Linked DNA regions of Homo sapiens: region 1 is linked to region 2. Evidence: promoter capture Hi-C in human tissues and cell types (Jung and others, 2019). All regions are on one chromosome and are shown on one strand. The core of a region is centred on a gene start or on the middle of the fragment in contact, and the rest is flanking DNA. Distances in the headings are between cores, read along the strand shown.

What was found. Contacts are between HindIII fragments. The study calls those that stand out against the background at their distance.
Region 1: a fragment that was not itself captured here is called in contact with the fragment with the promoter of ZNF423 in region 2 in 1 of the 25 tissues and cell types used here (lymphoblastoid cells).

Annotation. Positions count from the first base shown.
Region 1 is chr16:49,894,385-49,899,598 of GRCh38, reverse strand. No RefSeq gene overlaps it. Among named protein-coding and RNA genes, the nearest start is that of ZNF423, 41 kb to the right of the region's middle. The HindIII fragment of the contact is 4,838 bases long and covers 1-4,291 here.
Region 2 is chr16:49,854,498-49,859,223 of GRCh38, reverse strand. It overlaps ZNF423 (zinc finger protein 423), which reads left to right and starts at 3,112. Exons shown (of 8, transcript NM_001379286.1): 1 at 3,112-3,489. The coding sequence starts at 3,450. RefSeq lists a silencer at 3,609-3,868. The HindIII fragment of the contact is 13,140 bases long and covers 1-4,726 here.

The DNA of each region.
Region 1 (5,214 bases), core at 623-3,122, 42 kb before region 2:
GTCTATTTCATTCACCTTCTCTTGCTGGTTGCCCCCAGTGGAATTTACTCATTCATTCATTCAGCATATATCTACTGGGCACCCATTCCGTGCCAGGTGCAGAAGCTACAGCGCTGAGCAAGATGGCCAGAGGCCCTGATCTCAAGGAGCTGACAGCAATGAACAGAGAGATCAGAAACAAACGCAGTGACTTCTAATTGTGATAGAGGCTGTGTTGGCAGGAATCAGAACGATGTGACAGAAAGTGAGGGATAGGAGAATATTAAACCAGGCCATCAGGAATGGCCTCTGTGAGGAGGGGACATTTCCTCTGAGGCTCGCTGGATGCACTGAAGTCCTAAAAGGGCAAAGGACCCAAGGCAGATTCCAGGAACATTGAGATGGCCTGAGTGCCGGGCATGGCAGTCAGGGGCATCTGAAAGGTGTCATCAGCAGGGGCCCGTCATCGTGGGCTGGGCTGGGCTGGCAGTGGGCGTGTGATGGATTTTACTCTGATAGTCAGGGAAGCCACTGGAAAGTTTTAGCCAGGATTGATGTGATCAGCTCTGCATTTGGAGGACACTGTCCTAGAGGCCATGAAGGGAGCAGGTTGGAGGGACCAGTAAGGGCGTGCAGAGACGGATCAGAGGGACTCCTTAAGAGCCCTGAGGCCTCTTAGGTGGGTGAGACATGGTGCTGGCTTCCACTTCAGTCTTCAAGGTAAAAAAAGGGTGGCCTACGGAGGCATTTGCAACTATAGGGGTTACCCTGGGTTTTTTGTTTTTGTTTTAGAGACAGAGTCTTGCTCTGTTGCCAAGGCTGGAGTTCAGTGGCACAATCATAGCTCACTGTAGCCTCGAATTCCTGGGCTCGAGCAATCATTCTGCCTCAGCCTCCTGGGTAGCTGGGATTACAGGTGCCACCACCATGTCCAGTTAATTTTTAATTTTTTCATAGAGATGGAGTCTTGCTATGTTGCCCAGGCTGGTCTCGAACTCCTAGCCTTAAGTGATCCTCCCACCTCAGCTTCCCAAACTGCTAGGATGATAGGCGTAAGCCACTGTGCCTGATCTTACCCTGCGTTTTAATTGACCATCTGTGGCTGCTGCTTGGGTAGAAGAGGGTTTCAGTTTATTATTTTAAAATGTGTACATGGGGCTGGGCATGATGGCTTACACCTATAATCCCAGCAGGTGAGGGAGTCTGAGGCAGGAGGATCGCTTTAGCACAGGAGTTCAAGGTTACAGTGAGCTATGATCAAATCACTGCATTTCAGCCTGCCTCAGAGTGAGACCCTGTCTCTACAAATGCACACACACACACACACACACACAAAGATTCTGCTTTTGTGGAGCAAGAAGGGACCTGAGTTCAACTCTGGCCTGAGAAGGCCAGGGCAGTTCAGGCAGCTGGTCACTGGGCACCATGACCAGCCCACCCCCGGGGCAAAGCCCAGTGAAGGAGGCATGGGAGGCTGATTTCACCTCTGCCCTCGGAATGAAAAGGGAGTACTTAGCTGGGGCTAGTGCAGAGGGCAAACGGAAGCTTGCTGCCCAGCTCACGTTTCTTTCTGGTAATATTCCTCTCTGCAGGATTCACTTGGGGACCAGCTCATTTCAGGCTCTACAGGCACCAGGATGGTCCCATCTCTGATCATCAGTGGGCAGAAGATACCTGGTTGTGAGTTCTAAAGAGGAAATCTCAAGTTAGGTCTGGTGAAAGGCAGAAATAGCTGGAAAAAGTAGAGGGGACTGCCAAGCTTTTGCTCTTCCAAAGGTTTTGGAAAAATAGGAATGGAATAACTGTCTTTCTGGAATAGGATGCAGAAAGAGTCCCTTATAGTTGCTTAAAATTCTAACTCCAGGCTTCCTCATTCACAAGTCTGGATGGTGCTCCCAGGGAGTATGGAAAAGTCAGCCAGCCCTGGAAGCTCTGGCTGGAGAAATCTGAGGGTCACTGAGTGAACTCAGGGTGGCATGGGGCGAAGAGTGGGCGCTGAGGGAGTACTCCTGTGTTTAGATCTACAGTCTGACCCTGGGAGCTGCTCCATCAGAAGCCATCTCAGAGACAAGGACACGAATCCAAGTGTGTTTAGAGGGGATCTCAGAGAGCACCACACGGGAGACAGGAAAGAGCAGGGCAGGAAGGAACCAGTAAAGGGTCTGTTTCTCAGCAGGTCTGTTTCTTTTTTTTCTTTTTTTTTTTTGATACGGAGTCTCCCTCTGTCGCCCAGGCTGGAGTGCAGTGGCGCGATCTGGGCTCACTGCTAGCTCTGCCTCCTGGGTTCACGCCATTCTCCTGCCTCAGCCTCCCAAGTAGCTGGGACTACAGGTGACTGCCACCACGCCCGGCTAATTTTTTGCACTTTTAGTGGAGATGGGGTTTCACCGTGTTAGCCAGAATGGTCTCGATCTCCTGATCTCGTGATCTGCCCGCCTTGGCCTCCCAAAGTGCTGGGATTACAGGCGTGAGCCACCGCGTCCGGCCCTCAGCAGGTCTGTTTCTGAGCAGCTCTGGGAGTCAGCACTTGGCTGCACCCAGATGGATGGGGGAGCCAGGGCATTTATATGCCAGCCCTCGCCACCATTGGCTGAGGGCTGTATGGAGGCATATAGGTGCGGCATCCACTGTGTCTGCTGCAGCAAGTTATGTAGCCCAAGCCTCCACTGCTTCTTCTATAAAATGGGGATAATAAGAGCAACCTTGCTTTAAAAAAATAAGTAAGAAGCCTGTCTCCTCAGGTGACTGAGACTGAATGAGAATGCCGGTAAGGCTTGTGCTTCAGGGCGGGGCACTGGGCATGTGCTCTTTCCTTTGTTTGATGGATATTTACTGTGGGTCTCACAGTGCCAGGCCCTGGGATTCCATAGAGAACACAAGCAACTTGTAGCTGATCCCCGTGAAGCTGGACTCATGAGCAATCCTCGAGTCAGCGACAGCAAGTGTGACGGAGCCACAGAAGGGCAAGGCAGCGTGGGGAGGCGCCCCAAAGCAGACACCGACTCCCTTTATGGAGGCGCCATGTGAGACAACCCCACCCCAGTGTCTCCCATAACAGTAACATAGCCGGTTTCTTTTTTCTTTCTTTCTTTTTTTTTCTTTTTTTTTTTTGAGAGATGGTCTCACTCTGTGGCCCAGGCTGGAATGAGTGGCGTGATCATGGCTCACTGCAACTTTGACCTCCTGTGCTCAAGTGATCCTTCCGCCTCAGCCTCTCAGGCAGCTAGGACTACTACCAGGGGTGTGCCACCACGCCGGCTAATTTTTTATTGTTGTTTATTTATTGTTAATTTTTATTTTTTAGAGATGGGGTCTCACTATGTTGACCAGGCTGGTCTCAAACTCCTGGGACATGGCCAGTTTCTATGGGTAAGGACTGGGTGACATTTTGGTTTGTGTTCAGGGGTCAAGTGGTAGGAAAAATATACACTAAAAACACTAGAGTGGTTCCCAGTGCAGGAAGGTGGTTGCATTGTGAGAGAAACCAGGGCCCCGAGGCCAACCGAGGGAGGAGGGGCTGTGCTTCTATTTCACACTCAACCATGGAGGGAGCAGCGGGCAGAGCAGCCTGCCTGTTAAGATGAGACCAGCGTGGCCAACATGGTGAAACTCCGTCTCTACTAAAAATACAAATATTAGCCAGGCATTGTGGCAGGTGCCTGTAATCCCAGCTACTTGCGAGGTTGAGGCATGAGAATCTCTTGAACCCGGGAGGCGGAGGTTGCAGTGAGCCAAGATCCCACCACTGCACTCCAGCCTGGGCGACAGAGCGAGACTGTCTCAAAATAAATAAATAAATAAAAAGTTGACCCTTTTCCTCTCTTTCTTCCCCACCTCACATGCTGAGAGGTGGTTCCATGCCTGAAATGAGTTGGGATGGAATTCCACTATTGTCACCAACACTGTGGGCCCCTGCCGTAGCCCCGCAGCACTCCCTATGGTGGGGGTGCCCATCTGGTGGCTTTTCCTGCCAGCCCCTGACTTTCTCTGGTCCCTGTGGAGGAGGCAGGTCAGGGAGGTGGGGAGTCGGCACTCCCCGGAGCAGCTCCCAGCCAGCTCAGCTATCCCTCAGCAGGAGCAGCTCAAGCACCCTACTATGTCTCCCAGGATGCCCCAGCCACCACAGCGGCCACCAGGGCAATGGCATGCTCTGCCCCCACTTCCCTGCCCTGCCTGGACTGTCTTTCCCCATTTCCTCCCCTTGGCAAATTCAGGGGTCCACTTCCAGAGCTTTGTTGACATCTTGCCCAGCAGCTGGTCCCTTTTCCTCTAAGCTCACCTGACAGTTTCTCAAACTTCCTTTGTCACAGATGTACGCAGGAACACTATTACCTACTTGGCATTTTTATTTAAATCAATGTTTTAAAATTTTTTATTAAGTTTTTAAAGGCAGGGTCTTGCTCTGTTACCCAGGCTGGAGGGCAGCGACACAATCACAGCTCACTGGAGCCTTGAACCCCTGGGCTCAAGTGATCCACCCACCTCAGCCTCCTGAGTATCTGGGACCTATAGGCACATGCCACCATGCTGGCTATTTTTTTTTCTTTTGAAGTTGTTGTAGAGACAGGGGTCTCACTGTGTTGCTCAGGCTGGTCTTGAACTCCTGGACTCAAGTGAACCTCCTGCCTCGGCCTCCCGAAGTGTTGGGACTATAGGTGTGAGCCACTGCACTTGGCCTAAATCAATGTTTTAATTGACTCACATTTTTTATTATGACAAAATACATATAATGTAAAATTTACCATTTTAACCATGTTTAGGTGCACAATTCAGTGGCACTAAAATTATGCAATCATCACCTCTACACATCTGCAGAACTTTCCCATCACCCCAGACAGAAACTCCGTCCCCACTAAACACTGACTCCTATCCTCCCCTCCCCCAGCCCTGGCACCCTCTATTCCACCTTCTGTTTCTATGTTTCTATTCTAGGGACCTCCAATCAGTGGAATCACACAAAGTTTGTCTTTCTGTGTCTGGCCTACTTCACTTAGCAGAATGTTATCAAGGTTCTTCCATGTCGTAGCATGTATCAGAATTCATTTATTTTCATGGCTAACTGATATTCCACCATAGGTATATTCTACCTTTTGTCTATTCATCTGTTGATGGACATTCAGGTTGGCTCACTTTTTTTTTTTTTTTTGAGACGGAGTCTCACTCTGTCACCCAGGCTGGAGTGCAGTGGCGCGATATCAGCTCACTGTAACCTCCACCTCCTGGGTTCTAGCGGTT
Region 2 (4,726 bases), core at 1,863-4,362:
GCCCCCACCTCCGTCCTCAGTCTTCAGCAGGCCCCTAGGGGTGGAAAAGGGCAGCCCCGTGGGACTCCAACCACCCCTCTCCCCCGACGGCCCCTCTTTCGTCCCGCACACGCATTCCCCACCGCGCTCCTTTTGTCCGCCCCCTCACTCTCCAGACTCCCGGCTGGGCAGGATCCGCAATCTCCAGCCCCCCAGAAAGCCTGGGCGGGCGAGCTGGGGGCCGTTCCCCGCCCCCTACCTCTAGCAGAGGCAGCCCGCGGCGGGGGCACCCCAGAGCCGAGGCCAATCGTCCCCCTCCCCCAGCGTGTGCCATCTGCCGCCTGTCAGCCACTCTCCGCGGGCCTCGATCCCAGGCGCCGGCGGGGGTGGGGGAGCGGCTGATTCTGCCCCTCCTTCCTGGCTCCTTCCCAGGCGCCTCGCGGCCCCTGCCCTCGCCTCGGCCCTTGGCACCCCCGGTTCAGCCCAACTCCGTCCATCCCTGGGCCGCGGGGGCGTGGGGGGGGGGGCTCCTATTCCCTCCGGGAAGGCCGAGATGTTGGACACTCTTGGACGCACAAGCTGGGGAGGACTGTGGCCTGGGGATGGTAGCGCTAACCTGGGGAGGGGCGGCCCTCAAGGCTTAGGTCTAGTTAGGGGACGTCTCGGTCCTGGCCTCCGCCCCTCTGGGGAGCCTCGCTCGCCCGCTGCCGCTGTCAGGGTGTCCAGCTAGGCGTCGCGTTTAGCCCGTCACCCGACTCTACCTCTGAGACTGCCTAGGGCGCGCGCGCCTGGCCCCCCTGCCTCAGGCCTCTCCGCATCCTCCAGCTCGCGCTCCCCAGCCGCGGGGGTGCGTGGGTGGCATCTACCTCGGCAATCAGCCCAGCACGGGGTTGGCGAGCAGGGCCCGGCGGGACCGCGGAGAGAGCTGAGCGGGGCCGGGCCCGGCTGGCCGGCAGGCTGGGGAGCGGCGGGGCGCGGGCACCCTGCGTGGGGCGGGCGCCGCGGCCCGGCCGGCCCCGGCGCTGTTCTCGGCGGGCAGCGGGTTTTTCCGTGAAAGGTTGCCCTGGGTAACTCGTCTCCGAGGGGACGTAGCCCTCCCCTCTCCAAGTGGCAACTTATCGATCCGAGAGATTGATAACCCCCAGCGCCGCGCCGTGCACCCGCTCCGTTCTCCTGGCTCCGGGGCGCGCCGGCCCAAGGTGGCGCCACTCACCCGGGAGGGGGGCGAGGTCGGGGCCGCTCCCCACCCGAGACCTGGCCGCCTGCAGCTAGTTGGGGAGGGAGAGGCTCCGAGGAACGGTTTAGGGGAGCCGTCTGGGGAAGACTTTTCCCAAGTCAGAACCCTTCCCGGGCCTGCCCGGAGACCAGAGTCTCAGCCGGTTCAGGAGCTGCGGGGGACGCGCGGCGCCCCCTGGCGGCTGGGTAAAACCTCGCAGAAAGTAGCAGCTGGTTTATTTCTTCTGACAACTGCGCGGGGAGGGGGTGCTCCTGCAAGGTCTCAGGGGTAAGGTGTTCCTTTTACAGTCGGACAGAGGAAGTGCACACCAGGCGCGAGAATTCTACAAATAAGGGTGTAGGGGGCGCACGGGGTTAGCCCAGTGGTGGAAGAATTTGTTGGATGTGGGGCAGGGGTGGTCTTTGAACACCGACCGGTGGGCAAAAGCCAACCTGGCAGAGCCAGGTCCCTGGATAGTTCATGTGCGTGAGGCATACATCGCGAGGTGGCAATACTAGGGCAGCCCAACTCCGTTTGCTCCCCCATTCTTTCACTTTTTACAGTTTGTGAGGCTCATGCGTCTTGGCGAGCTTGACAGCCGCGTGGGCCCTAAGTGTGTTCCCTCCTCCTGCCCCCGGTGCAGCCAGCGCCCGAGCCCCGGCCCCGCGTGCTGGTGCGGTGCCCGCGCCCGCGCCGTGCCTGCCGCCGCCGCCGCCGCCGCCACCACGGTCCGGGTTTTGCGGGCGGCCGGAGCTGTATTTCCAGCGCTGTCCATCGCTCGGTGCTGTTGGCCCTCTCTCCGTCTGATCCGAGCCGGAGCAGTGCGGGGCGCCCCACGGGATCAGAGCGCTCCCCCGCCGGGACTCCGCTCCTCACATCCTCCTGCTGGGACCCGGCTACATTTCCAGCCAAGCCTGGCTTTATTATGTGTCTCTGCAGTGCAGCCCCAGCAGCCGGATCGGGAGGAGGAGAGCCAGCGACCACAAAGAAGACAGGAGCGCGAGGGAGGCTGGCGGGCGGGCCGGCGCCGGCTGGAGCGCGGAGGAGCCGGGGCGCAGCCGCCGCCGCCGCTGCCCAGGAGGACGGGAGCCCGGCCGCCGCCGCCGCCGCCTGCTCGTCCTCCTCTTCCGCCACCGCGGCCGCCGCCTCCCCCCTCTCCGAGCCCCTGGCCCATGGAGGCAGCTAGCGGGGCCGGCGACTTGGCACCGGCCTGGGGATCGGCTGCGCGCCTCGCGCTGAGCACCGCAGCCCGAGGGCAGGCAGCGGCGGCCCGGCGCACGGGCTGAGCGATGCCCGGGGCACGGGCGCGCCTGCCGGCCGCCGCCTGAGCGCCCCCGCGCGCCCCTTCCTCCTCCGGGGGGCCGGCGCCGGGCCGATCCGAGAGCCAGAGAAGGGGGCGTGAGCCAGGGGCCCCGAGCCGCGGCTTCCGAGCCACTGCGGCCGTTTCGAGCCTCCCCTCCAAGTAGGCTGAGTTGAGGGACCCCCGCCCCCCATCCATCATAATCTCCAAACCAGGCGCTTGGGCATTTTTGAGCCATTAATATTTATTATTTTTTTTTGTGCGGCAGGGGATAATTCGAAGGCTTCTTTTTTTTTTTTTTCCTGGGGGGTACTGAGCTTCCGCGCTCCCGACCGCCTCCCGGTCTCCTCCCCCCTTGAGATACCCTCGACTCCAGCCCCGTTCCCCCTCCTCAGATGGGTTCATTGTGAGCTCCGCACCGGGCTGCGTGGCCGGACGCCTGCAAACTTTGCACAAAAATCCGGCAAGGGGCGGAGGAGGAGGAGAAGGAGGAGGAGGGTGAGGGTGGCGGTAGGGTGGGGGAGGGAAGGAGGGGGCCGCAGGGGCCGGGGGCCGGCGGGGGGTTGGGAGGAGGAGGGGGGCGGCTTTTTTTTTTTTTTTTTTTTTTTTTTTTTTGCATAACTCGGCTCGGCCGAGTGGCCTCCGGACTCCCCGCGCCGCTGGGACCGCCGCTTGGATCGGGAGCCCCGGACTGCCGCATTGCAACAGGCAGGGCCCCGGCGCGCCCCCCGGGCCTCCCCCCGCCTTCGAGCGGCCTCGGCCGGCCCGGGCTGCCCCCCCAAGGGAGGCCGCCCCGGACCTGCGGTCCGCTCCCCACAGCCGCCAACCGGGCTGCAAAAAAAAAAGTTTCCAAGAGACAGGCGGAGGAGAAGGGGGAGAAGGGCTGCCCGGAGCGGCGGGGGGCGGCGGGGGGAGCCGGCTGCGGAGGGCGACGGAGCGCCCGGAGCCCCGGACATGTCCAGGCGGAAGCAGGCGAAGCCGCGCTCGGTGAAAGGTGAGCGAGCGAGGCCCGGCGGAGGCGCGAGCGAGCGAGCGAGGAGGGAGGGAGCGAGGGAGGAGGGACCGGCGAGCGGGCTGGCTGCCGGGGACCCGCGCGAGCGAGCCGAGAGGAGGAGGAGGAGGCGGCAGAGGAGGCGGAGGCGGAGGCGGAGGCGGAGGAGGGGGAGGAGGAAGCCGGGAGCAGGAGGCGGAGGCGGCGGCGGCGGCGGCGGCGGCGGAGGGGGTACGCCGCGGACACCCTCCCTGCCCGGACTCGGCGCCGTCGCCCTTGGGGGACCCAGGCCTGGGGGCGCCGCTAAGGGGCCCTTGCCGCTCCCTCCGTGCGGGGCCCGGGCCCGTGTGGCCAATCAAGGGGTGCTGGCCCGACTTGGCGGGGATTGCGAATCTCGGCGGCGGCGGGCGGGCGACAGGAGGAAGGAAGAGGCGGCGAGGACGGGCGCCCGGCAGGCCGACCGCTCCTCGCTGGCCCCGGGCCTCGCTGGCTCTCTCTGGCCCCTGCCTGGTCGCCCGAGGACGCGGGGAGCGGCGGGCGCTGTCGGCGAGCGCCCCGGGCGCCGCGCCCTCGCCCCGGCCGCCTGGCGCCCCCTCCCGCCCCTGCCCAGGCCTTCTCCCGGCCCGGGCCCCTGCACTTCCTGCCTCCTCCACCGAGGCCCACCGGGCAGGGAGCCTCCGCCAGGAGTTCATTGTCTGCACGGCGCCGGCGGGACGCAGGTCCTCAGGGGAGCTCAGCGGCCGCGGTGCGCGCCCCTCCGCGGAGGGCGCCCCGGATCTGACCCCGGGCACCGGCACCCTGGATCTGACCCCGGGCACCGGCACCCTCGACACCCAGGCCGGCTTTCTGTGCTGGCTCCCCGGGGTGCGCGCGTTTGTGGGGAGCTGCAGATATATAGATACACACACCCATCCCTTCGTCTCCACGCTTTGCTTTCTATTTCCAGCGAGGGCCCCCAGCTCGAGGGGACCCCTGGAGAGTAGAGGCCCCGGGGAAAGGCCGCGCGCCGGCAGCAGAGCCCCTCCCCTGGCCTCCTCTCCCCGCGGCTGGCCTTTCCAGGCCTTGCCTGCTGCTTTGTCCCGATTCTAGCCCCTCGGTTGGGTGCCCGGGCGCTCGGCTGTGAGATGGGAGATGATCGAGGAAGGGGGGAACGATGAGAGCGGCTAAGTCTACGGAGCCAAAAGCCCCCAGGCCCTTGTCTTCTCCCATCTCCCCTGATGACCTCTGGCCTGAGCCCAGT